Regions from separate parts of the Homo sapiens genome. Here region 1 is linked to region 2. The links are contacts of gene promoters, found by promoter capture Hi-C in blood cells and fetal thymus (Javierre and others, 2016). All regions are on one chromosome and are shown on one strand. Each heading gives the region's core, a stretch centred on a gene start or on the middle of the fragment in contact. The rest is flanking DNA. Distances are from core to core; before and after follow the strand shown. Region 1 holds the start of GRB2 (growth factor receptor bound protein 2). Region 2 holds the start of UNK (unk zinc finger).

Region 1 (6,217 bases), core at 228-2,727, 380 kb before region 2:
AAAGAAAAAGAGTAAAAGACAAAAATAATACAAGCAAACCACACTTGCGACCTAGTGGCAGGACTGATTTCTTAGGGATGAATTCAATCTTTTGAGCCTCCCCGTTCTCAGAGAGGGGACTTCAGCCTCCCACGGCTCTCTAGCAACCCTTCTGGCTGACTGCAGGGAACGCAGGGGACGCGCAAAAGTAAAGGAACGAAAGCAAGGAAAGAGAGTCTCTTCCCGAGGAAAAAGACGGAATCTTGAAATGAGAGAAAACGAACAGCACGAAAGGGAAGAAACCTCGAAAAATTACGCCAGAGTGGGGACTACAAGGAGGAAGGGGAAGTACATTAGAAAAAAAGGGGGGGGTGGGGGGAGGAAGGGGCAAATGACTTGCATTACACAAGCATTTCGTGTCCCTAGTGGAAAGGACAGAAGCAGATAGAGAAGGAAGGAAATAACTGGAGAAAGAGGAGTAAGAAAGCCAAAATAGACTAATGCTAATTTCTCTCATGTGTCTGACATTTCGGAAAGTCAACAGCATCAAAAAGAGACAGACCTCAAGTGCACTTCAGTCCCCTGCAAACTGCACTTTCACAGCGTTTGAAGCCAGCCTTGAAAAACTTTCTAAACAAGCCATAACTCATGTGTGGCTTACAATCATAGAGAGGGCGCGCTGCAAATGAAAATTACCAGCGCCCGCTCTCGCCGCAATCCTTCCTCGGTGCAGTCCAACCTGCTACTGCTGAATTTTTCTTGACAAATATTTTTCAAATAGTTTTTTTTTTTAAGTGTCAGAATAAAGGTATCTCCCCCGGCTCCAGCAGCAAACGTTCCACCCCAAAGTGGATTCCCGCACAAAATTAAGCCCAAAGACGCCAGGAGATGGTGACGTGGTTGCCGTGCAGGTCGAAGGCACATCAATCACCACAGCTGCAGCCCACACCAGTCCCCCGCCGCCAGGCTCGGGTAGACTGACTCGGTCGGCGTTCGGCCCGCCTGGGCTTCCCGGGCCCCTTCCGTGCAAACCCTCCCGATGAAGGCAGGGGACCTCGCCAGAGAACCCCGACCTCTTCCCCCGGACTGCCCAGAGCCAAGAGCCGGAGGAGGACGGTCCCCAGGAAGGAAGCGCCCCAAAAGGGGAAACGTAGAGTCCGGAGCCCCGGGGATTGCGCTCCACGTCCCAAGCCTCGCCGCCCCGACGCGAACCCCGGGGCCGGTCCCGGTTCCCCCGGGGCCCACTCCCGCTGTAGAGCCAAGAGGAAAAGGCACGAGAGAGGCGCCGAGCGCAGCCTCCCGTACTCACCGTGGCGCAGCTGCTCCGCTCAGCGTCCGGCCCGCCCCTCCACAACGCTGCGAGCGGCCGGCGACCCCAAGGCTGCTCTGCGAGGGCAGCGCTTGCTCCCGCCGCCGTCACCGCCACAGGCACAGACTCTGCCACAGCCGCCGCCGCCGCTGCCGCCGCCCGGTCGCCGAAGCAGCAATACCTCCTGGCTTCCGCTCCCCGTCGGTGTCCCGCGAGAACTTCTCCACGAGGCCCCGCCCCGCCCCCGCGAGACTTCCCCCGGCGGAAAAGGCCCAGAGCGCAAGCGCTCCTCCTCAGCCGGGCCCCTGCGGGTAGGGAACCAGCTAGGTGTCAGGGCGCATGCGCCAGACCTCCCCGCAGCAGGTGGCCTCCGCACGGCTCCGCCCCCGGGTCGCCGTAACCCTCTCGGTGCCAGAGCGGGTAAATGACAGCTTAGCCCTGAAGGACTCTTCCCCCGTCTAATCACTTTATTTTCCTCTTCTACCAAACCTAGGCAGTTGGATGGGTAGGGGCTTGGGGGAGGAAGAGATCTTCCAGAATGAAGCACTCCAAATAGAGGACCAGGTCTTAAAATATTTGAGAATCCGGTCCGTACAAACTCTGCTGTGTTGAATGATTGGTGAGTTTGTTTGCTCATTGATTGAATCACTGCAGAGTTTGTACGGACCGGATTCTCCAATATAGGCCGAACACTGTGCTGGGGATAGAACAGAAATCTTGGCCCTTAAGGAATTCACGGTCTAGGAAGTAGAAGAAAAATAAACAAATAATGCCATAAGTACTGTTATAATTATTTGGAGTTTGCTGAGGAAGCTAAAAAAATGGAGGGGGTACTGCTACACTGCCCATTGCAGAAGAGCCTTCACAGATGTGATGCGGCGATGTCTGATCTGAGTCTTGGAGGATGAGTAGGAATTTGCCAGGCAGAGAAGCCAGAGTAAGGGCATTTCAGGGAAAGGGAATGGCACGTAAGTACAGAGGCTAAGTACAGAGGAACGGAGGCGTGAGAGAGAAAGTCGTGTTCTGTGCAGTGCTAAGTAGTTCAATTCCTGTATGAGGCCGGTGAGTACGGGGGAGTGGCAGAAGATGAGGCTTGGAGAAATAATTCTTATTTTTCAGTTCCCAAAGCTCTTCCAATTAAAGGATAGAACACAACACACCTAGCGTTACTGTGCCTTCTGGAAGCCAACAAAATAGCGCTGAGGTGAGAATAACCAAGCATCTGATTCTATAGAGAAAAGAAGCCCATTGAAACACAGAAAATGAATTGTGCTTTCACCAAGTATTTATTGAGCATCACCTGTGTGCAAGGGGCTCTGCAGGGTCAAAGACCAACCAGATGAAGCCCCTGCTTTCAGTGCTTTGTAATCTAGAGTTGCCTAATCTGTAAGACAAGCAGTTGGCCCCAAGTGCCACTGAACTACACATAGGGATGGCTGAGGAGGGAGCCAGTACTTGGTGCTGAGCTAATCAAGAAGGATTTGGTTTGAACGGCAAAGTGAAAGCAGGGAGGAAAGAGGAAAGAGTAATGGAATCAGCCTTTTGTTTTTTTTTTTTTTTTTTTTTTTTGAGACGGAGTTTTGCTCTTGTTGCCCAGGCTGGAGTGCAATGGTGCGCGATCTTGGCTCACCGCAAGCTCCGCCTCCCGGGTTCAAGGGATTCTCCTGCCTCAGCCTCCCGAGTAGCTGGGATTACAGGCATGTGCCACCACACCCAGCTAATTTTGTATTTCTAGTAGAGATGGGGTTTCTCCATGTTGGTCAGGCTGGTCTCAAACTCCTGACCTCAGGTGATCCGCCCACCTTGGCCTCCCAAAGTGCTGGGATTACAGGCGTGAGCCACCATGCCTGTTTTTTTGGTTTTTTTTTTTTTTTTGAGACTTGCACTGTTGCCCAGGCTGGAGTGGAGTGCAGTGGCATGATTTTGGCTCACTGCAACTTCCGCCTCCTGGGTTCAAGCATTCTCTCACCTCAGCCTCTCAAGTAGCTGAGATTACAGCAGCCTGCCACCACACCCAGCTAATTTTTGTATTTTTAATAGAGACAGGGTTTCGCCATGTTGGCCAGGCTGGTCTCGAACTCCTGACCTCAGGTGATCCACCTGCCTCAGCCTCTCAAAGTGCTGGGATTACAGATGTGAGCCAACACTCCTGGCCATCAACCAATGTTTTTGATTAGTCCAAGCCCCAGTAATTGGGGGGAAGAGTGATGAGAGAGAGGGGCCAAAATGCAAAATGCATGGCTTAGGTGTCATAGTCAAGTGATGGGCAACCTCTGAAGGTTTCTGAGCAGGAGGTGTCTGATATGAGGTGAAAATAAGAAAAGGACCCTCTATTTACCACTTGATGCATACTTAAGTCATAGCGCCTCCACAGGGTGGGTAATATCCCCATTTTACAGACTTGGAAACTAAGCCTTAGAGAGGTTAGTAATTTACCCAAGGAAGCCAAAATATAGTAGACCTAAGATTTGGACTAAGGCCTGTCTTGTTCTAAAATCCTCATTTTTTTCCCGCACTATGCCACTTTGTTCTAAAATAGCAGTCAGAAAAAAATAGAAATGGAAGGGAGGGACTTAGCTGCTAAGCAGAGAGGAAGACATGAGGGAAGAATTGCAGTTTTTTGTTTTGAGTGGGCCTGGATAACAGGGAGAACACAGAAATTTGCCAGTCAAGAGGCATAGCTGACTGGAGGGGGCAGGCACAGAGAACAGGGAAGGGCAGGTGAGGAGATGATTGTAAGGGTGAAGGGAATTTTTCCCTTCCACTCTGACAGTTTGAGTCTGCTGAAATAAACTGGCAATAGATTAACAGGAGAAAGCACATACAAATTTACTGACATGCAGTGTGCATGGTTACCATACAGAATATGAGACTCAGAGAAGAGCCAGGTGGCTGAAGCTTAAAGAGCACCATCTTTGCAGAGGAGAGGGAGATGAGCGGAGGTCAGCAATACTGAAAGGTAGTCAACTATTTTTAGGGAAAAGGAATGAGCCCAAACAATGCCTGGGACAAAGTTCCTCTGAGCTCTGGGAGCTGGAGGTTGTGACAAATTTCAGGAAGGTGAGGTGCAGGACTTCACTGTAAATAAAGGTTGTCTTATTATGCAGATAAAGTCTCCTAAATAATCTCAGCTGTCCTCAGGAGAATAGATGAAAAGTCTGTTTGGATGTGGTGACAACTTTTAGTCTTTTCTCTTCTCTGGTAGTTAATATTTCCTGGTTATTTGACGAGAGTCCTAGGGAGGAAATTTTAAGACAGTCGCATCTATTTTTTTTCTTTTCTTTTCTTTTTTTTTTTTTTGAGATGTAGTTTCACTCTTGTTGTCCAGGCTGGAGTGCAATGGCGTGATCTCAGCTCACCGAAACCTCCACCTCCCAGGTTCAAGTGATGCTCCTGCCTCAGCCTCCAGAGTAGCTGGCATTACAGGCATGCACCACCACGCCCGGCTAATTTTGTATGTTTAGCAGAGATGGGGCTTTTCCCTGTTGGTCAGGCTGGTCTCGAACTCCCGACCTCAGGTGATCCGCCCGCCTTGGCCTCCCAAAGTGCTGGGATCACAGGCGTGAGCCACCACACCTGCTCTTTTTCTTTCTTTCTTTTTTAATGGATCCCTTCACAGATTTGCATGTCTTCTTGCTCAGGGGCTATGCTAATCTCTGTATCATTCCAATTTTAGTATATGTGCTGCCAAAGCAAGTACACAATTGAATTTCTTTTGGTTTCTCAGTCAGCTAAGGGAACTTTCAGACAGCCCCTGCATGCATGTGGGGTGGTGAAACAAGACTTTAAAAAGTCCTTGGTTCTGAGGCAGCTTGTAAGTCCTTCCAATTTCCTTTCATTCAAAAGTGCTCAGAATGCCAGAGGAGCATACTTTGGGGTATCATTCTCTGAGCCCCAACATGATGATGACTCATTTTTGGAAATGCAGAATTCAGCATTCCAGGAGACATGCAGGTGGAAATATTCAGTATGCTGTTGAAAAGCTTGACAAGCTGGACGCAGCGTTCTCTCCCATAATCCCAGCACTTTGGGAGGCTGAGGCAGGTGGATCACTTGAAGTCAGGAGTTTGAGACCAGCCTAGCCAACATGGTGAAACCTCATCTCTACTAAAAATGCAAAAATTAGCCGGGCGTGGTGGCACATGCTTGTAACCCCAGCTACTCGGGAGGCTGAGGCAGGAGAATTGCTTGAACCCAGGAGGCGGAGGTTGCAGTAAGCAAAGATCATGCCACTGCACTCCAACCTGGGTGACAGAACCAGACTCCATCTCAAAAAAAAAAATAAATAAATAAATAAAAGAAAAGCTTAATGTACTCATTCATTCTCTTTGCCAACATTAACTAAGCATCTATTCTCTTTGTTTGTTTTTTTTTGTTTTTGAGACAGGGTCTCACTCTTGTCACCCAGGCTGGAGTGCAGTGGCGCAACCTCAGCTCACTGCAGCCTTGACTTCCCAGGCTCAGGTAATTCTCCCATCTGAGTCTCCCAAGTAGCCAGAACTACAGGCACATGCCGCCATGCCCAGCTAATTTTTTGTGTTATGTAAGTATGTATGTATGTACGTATGTATGTATGTATGTATGTATTGAGACAGGGTCTCACTCTGTTGCCCAGGCTGGAGTGCAGTGGCACGATCAGGGCTCACTGCAGCCTCAACCTCCTGGGCAAGAGATCCTCCTGCCTCAGCCCCCCAGTACCTGGGACAACAGTCATGCACCACCACGCTTGGCTAAATTTTTGTGTTTTTAGTAGAGATGGGTATCATCATGTTGGTTAGGTTGGTCTCAAACTCCTGGGCTCAGGCAATCTGCCCGCCTTGGCCTCCCAAAGTGCTAAGATTACAAGCGTGAGCCACCACGCCCAGCCTAGAGCATCTACTCTCTAGAGAGGAGGACAACCCTCCACAGAGTCTGCAGCCTGAAGGGGAA
Region 2 (5,413 bases), core at 2,462-4,961:
CTACAGGCGCCTGCCACCACGCCCGGCTAATTTTTTTGTATTTTTAGTAGAGACGGGGTTTCACCGTGTTAGCCAAGATGGTCTTGATCTCCTGACCTTGTGATCCACCCGCCTTGGCCTCCCAAAGTGCTGGGATTACAGGCATGGGCCACCGCCCCTGGCCGGTAATTTTTTTTTTTTTTGAAGTGGGGTCTTGCCCAGTCACCCATGCTAGAGTGCAGTGGTGCAGTGACCACGGCTCACTGCAGTTTTGACCTCCTGGACTCAAGCAATCCTTCTGCCCCAGCCTCCCAAAGTGCTAGGATTACAGGCATGAGCCACCATGCCTGACCTTCAGAGAATTACAGTACGTAAGTACAAATACCTCAATATTGACTTGTCACACCAGTGGTCAAGTATCAAACAATGAGAAAAAAATGCACACTTTGAAAAACTAGCTCAGCTTCATCTCAATCTCTGGTATCAAATTCCTGTTATTATTTCAGCCTTCTTAATTTTTTTTTTTTTTTTTTTGAGACGGACTCTTGCTCTGCTGCCAGGCTGGAGTGCAGTGGCGCGATCTCAGCTCCATGCAACCTCCACTTCCTGGGTTCAAGCGATTCCCCTGCCTCAGCCTCCCAAGTAGCTGGGATTGTAGGCATGCGCCACCATGCCCGGCTAATTTTTTGTATTTTAGTAGAGACAGGGTTTCCCATGTTGGCCAAGATGGTCTCGATCTCTGGACCTCGTGGTCCGCCTGCCTCTCGCCTCCCAAAGTGCTGGGATTACAGGCGTGAGCCACCGCGCTCAGCCAGCCTTCTTAATCTTAACGTGCACATTATGTATTTAATCATCATATACCTAAATTTACTGTGATAACCAACTTTGATTTCTGCCTTTGACTCAAAATTTGAGGTAGGGAAAAATTACATGATTTTATTAATGCCATGCTGAGAAGAGAAACCTAGGTGGATTCTCATGCTTTATTCTCAAACCTGTGTCAAGTTAAGAAACAGGGGACTGTTTAGACACACATATGAGGCTGTCAAATTCTCTGGGATGCAAACAGAAAAATAACTTGTCATCTTTTTTTTTTTTTTTTTTTTGACTTTGGCCTAGAAGAGGAATAGGCTTTCTAAATTGGTCCCCCACTTTGTGTTCCACGATTTTTTTTTTTTTTTTTTTTTTTGAGATGGAGTCTTGCTCTGTCGCCTAGACTGGAGTGCAGTGGCGCCATCTCGGCTCACTGCAAGCTCCGCCTCCCAGGTTCACACCATTCTCCTGCCTCAGCCTCCTGAGTAGCTGGGACTACAGGCGCCCGCCACCACGCCTGGCTAATTTTTTTGTATTTTTAGTAGAGACAAGGGTTTCACCATGTTAGCCAAGATGGTCTCGATCTCCTGACCTTGTGATCCGCCCACCTCGGCCTCCCAAAGTGCTGGGATTACAGGCTTCAGCCACCACTCCCTGCTGTGTTTCACGATTTTTCTAGGTTATACAGAATCCTGTCATTTCCATGCCTTTGTGTGGATGGACAGTCATTTTCTTTCCAGCTTTGCTGATTATTAGAAACTAAAGCCACCCGGAGAAAAAAGGTATGGATATACATTTATCCATTTAAGTATGATTCGTGGAAACAGGAGTCCGGGCGCAGTGGCTCACGCCTGTAATCCCAGCTCTTGGGAGGCTGAGGAGGGTGGATCGTGAGGTCAGGAGTTCGAGACCAGCCTGACCAACATGGTGAAACCACGTCTCTACTAAAACTACAAAAATCAGGTGGGCGTGGTGGCACACACCTGTAATCCCAGCTACTCAGGAGGCTGAGGCAGGAGAATTGCTTGAACCTGGGAGGCAGAGGTTGCAGTGAGCCGAAATCACACCACTGCACTCCAGCCTGGGCAACAGAGCAAGACTCTGCCTCAAAAAAAAAAAAAAAAAAAAAAAAAAAAGGCTGTCTCTCTTACTTCGTAGTCATGCAGGTATGTTTCACTTTTTCCAGATTGGTACAACGGAGGAAAAGCAACACAGGAAATGAGGAAGAATAAAAAATGTTTATACAATGAAAAAAAGCAGAAGAAAACAAAACAAACAAAACCCAACAGTGAATGTGATGTAGTCTTGTAGGCTACTGTCCTAGTTCCTCTTGTTACCAACTTGCTGAGTAACTTTGTGCAAGTTACTTAGCTTCTCTGGGTTTCGGTTTCCTCTTTTGTAAATTAAGCAGTTTGGATGATATCATCTCCCAACTCCACCAGTACACACTTATTCTGAAGCTCATGATATACATCTATTATTTAAAATCCAGTGCTGTGAACTCTATTTCTTCAGTCAGATCACACTTGAGTATTGTGAGGCTAACATAAACCAAGTAACTTGCGTTTAATCATAGGATTAAAGCAATATACTACAACTTTTATTTGTCCTTTTGTAATTTTTCATTTTCAAACGCCCCTAGTGGCTAAACGATTTAGCCTGTTTAGGAAAAACCAGTTTCTCAACTCTGTGATGTGGCTTCTGATGTGAGGGAACTTGGAGCTAAATAAAATAAGTATGTGTCACTCAAACATTAACGATTTTCCATTAGCCCCACCACCCTTCATCCCTAAGGTTATTTGGAATGTGTTTCTTTAATGAGATAATCATTTGTTAATATAATCCCATCTAAGAAAATATAAATCAAAACCAGTGGATTTGAAATAGATTCAATATGAAAAACCAAATTAAATGACAACGGTTAAAATATCTACGGAGAACATTCTAAAACTCACAGAAACAAATGCCTAGGTCTGGGGCATCTGGCTTATTTTATAAAGTGAAGAACTTTGCTTGACTGGTGGGAAGCAGAGAGGGGAAAGATAATGTCCCAAGTAAAAAGGCTGACGTCCAGACAAGAAAACTAGAGTGGATAAATACGGGCACGCCCTACTCAAACCCAGGCCTTTCCTCTGGACCCTGTGATGCTTCTCAACACTGGCAACTTGTCAGTGTACCTCAGAGACTATTCTAGGCGGAGATTAAATTCGTCCTTGGCCCTTAATGTACTGGAAACAAGTTGGTCAGGCCAGGTGTCAGGCTGAGAAAGCACACAAGTCGTGGAGTTCCAGGTGTCGAGTTTGGCAAAGGTAAATGAAGCGCCTCGGCAAAGGCGCGGGAACTGTAGCGTGCGGTGTACCTCCTCCTTAGCAAAGCTTTCTCAATGCCTCTTAGGTTAGACCCGCCGCAGGGATGAAGGGGTTGCTGGCGGATTGCAGGTGCCTGCAGCACAGGGCCCAGAACTAAGAACCGACAACACAGATTCTTAAGCCCTGCTTGGAGCACTGCTCTGAGCTGGCATTAGAACCGAACCTAGCTGTACTAAGTATAAAGGCAAAGTAGTTATGACACTGTTGGCAGTGAAATTATACTTGGAACTCTTTCGCAGAAATCGCTAGGGCCTCCCTAGCTCTGGGCCCCTTCTCCTCCAGGCGCTCCAGTTTCATGGAAAGGCTTCCCTATGAAACTGAAAACGCGCTGGTAAGAAGGAGAAATGCGACCGGACTGCAATTCCCAGAAGCCGTCGCAGGCCCTCAGCATCCGGGACACTAGCAGCAAGGATCCCTGGGTATTGTGGTCCTGTGCTTTGCCAGCAACCCTCTGCCGACGGTAAAATTCCAGCCGGACATAGAACCACAACTCCCAGCAACCCCTGCTGCCGTGTGGGGGGTCTTCACGTTCTCGTGGCGCGGCGCAGGCGCACTGGGTCCTCGGCGCGGACCGCGCAGACTGAATAATAAAAGGGGAGCGGCGAAGAGGCAGGAAGACAAGACCATGTCGAAGGGCCCCGGGCCCGGCGGCTCCGCAGCTTCCTCGGCGCCCCCGGCCGCTACCGCTCAGGTGCTGCAGGCACAGCCCGAGAAACCGCAGCACTACACGTACGTAGAGCCCCCCCCCCCCCGCCGCGCGCGCACGCCTGACGTCAGCGGCCAGCGTGAGTCACGCGCGCAGGGAGAGCGCGAGGCGGCCTCTTCCTCCCCCCCTTCCTCCTCCGGCCCGGCCCAGACCGGTTCCAACCTGCTGGGGCCGGTCCCAACTGCCTCCAACTGCCACCAACCTCTGGTCGGGCTGTGGGGCGGGAAACTCGGTCCCGGCCGCCGAGTGGGGAAGGCGGGAGCTCGGGATGCAGAGTGCACTCTCCCTAGGCCAGGCCTTCGAGGCCTAACTGTTCCTCAGACCATAAAACCACAGTAGTAGGCTCCTTTGGGGCAGTGAGAAGTCCAAGACACAACCAAGAGGAGTTCCGTGGGGTCCAGCCCCAGAACCCACCTATGAATGATGATTAACGTGAAGTCCTGTCAGGAGATTCCGTGCAGTTTGCGCAGGAAGCCTTTTGTGTCCCTAAGGCTCGTAGGTTGTCCACGAGGGCCACACTTGCTTGAATTCACAGTCGACGTAGATAAACATGCAAAGATGGAAACGTGTCCGTGCGTGCCCATGACCGTTTCCCTCGCGGGCTGTGCGGAGCCTGAGTCTGGGAGCCCGAAGGTGATGGGTTCCAAGTATGTCTGCAGGCTCAGCAGAAATGTAGCATTAGAGGGAGCCCCAAATACTGACACTACAGGAGTCCAGCAGGATGGGAAAACCTCTTCCTGGAAGTCTTGCATCTGTGTGCTTTTAGGTCGCTGTCTTCATTTCCTTCAAGCCACGTTAAGCATTCCCTAGAGTTAGGTGATGTGGGAGAAAGATGAATAAGGGGCGGTTTCTCCTGTTAAGCAAAATGTTGCTTTCCATTTTCCCTGATGCTCTGTGAATGCCTCTCATCCCCATGGGCTCCTGAGTGATGTGCATGTTTAAAAGGATCCCCAGCTGCGAGAGGTTTTGGAACCTGGGGGGTTGAACAGCTCTTAAGTTGTTCAGTGAACGAAGAACAGAATCATCTGTTGGAGTAGAAAGAACTCAAACCAGTCAGGAGGAACTCTTGTTATAGAAGACCTTGGGAAACTGTTCTGGGGTTGGGGAACATTGGTTATAGGAAGTGTATGGTTTCTTTGTGGGATTCTTTGTTGTTGGCTGAAATCATTTAAGCTTCTTGACTACAGTCTGACTCACGTTAACCATTCCTTTTCTGATATGGACATTGCTTTCCTGGTCCTTTCTTACTGGAGATCTTTCGCAGTCTTTCCATTGATTTTGGTGAGATGTTCTTAGCTCAAAGACTACTGATGAGTTGAATGGTGTAGTCTTGATTTTCGAATCTGGAAACTTCACGTAATTGGAACTTCTTTATAATCTCTGGTTGCTCAGATCACTGTTTTTAGCAAAATAAACACATTTTGAGTCACGAGAGTCTTGGCTTCAGCAACTTGTGTTTCTGTGTTGTGTTGTCATTGAGCATACTATGGAATCTGTAATAGAAAGGCTTTCTTATTTTGGAATTGACAGGTGAAACAAGTGAACA

Evidence for each region. The method cuts DNA at HindIII sites, captures the fragments that hold promoters and counts their contacts. A CHiCAGO score of 5 or more calls a contact.
Region 1: the fragment with the promoter of GRB2 here is called in contact with the fragment with the promoter of UNK in region 2 in 4 of 17 cell types (total CD8 T cells, naive CD4 T cells, naive CD8 T cells and 1 more); the score reaches 6.3 in total CD8 T cells.

Annotation. Positions count from the first base shown.
Region 1 is chr17:75,404,201-75,410,417 of GRCh38, forward strand. GRB2 (growth factor receptor bound protein 2) reads right to left here and starts at 1,478. Exons shown (of 6, transcript NM_002086.5): 1 at 1,289-1,478. MIR3678 (microRNA 3678) reads left to right here and starts at 1,869; the gene lies at 1,869-1,962. It also overlaps the pseudogene RNU6-938P. RefSeq lists a silencer at 1,536-1,715. The HindIII fragment of the contact is 6,780 bases long and covers 1-4,184 here.
Region 2 is chr17:75,781,095-75,786,507 of GRCh38, forward strand. It overlaps UNK (unk zinc finger), which reads left to right and starts at 3,712. Exons shown (of 16, transcript NM_001080419.3): 1 at 3,712-3,890. The coding sequence starts at 3,787. It overlaps MIR4738 (microRNA 4738), which reads right to left and starts at 3,513; the gene lies at 3,427-3,513. RefSeq lists enhancers at 2,064-2,243, 3,806-4,384, 3,974-4,373, 4,385-4,962 and a silencer at 3,774-3,913. The HindIII fragment of the contact is 1,873 bases long and covers 3,166-5,038 here.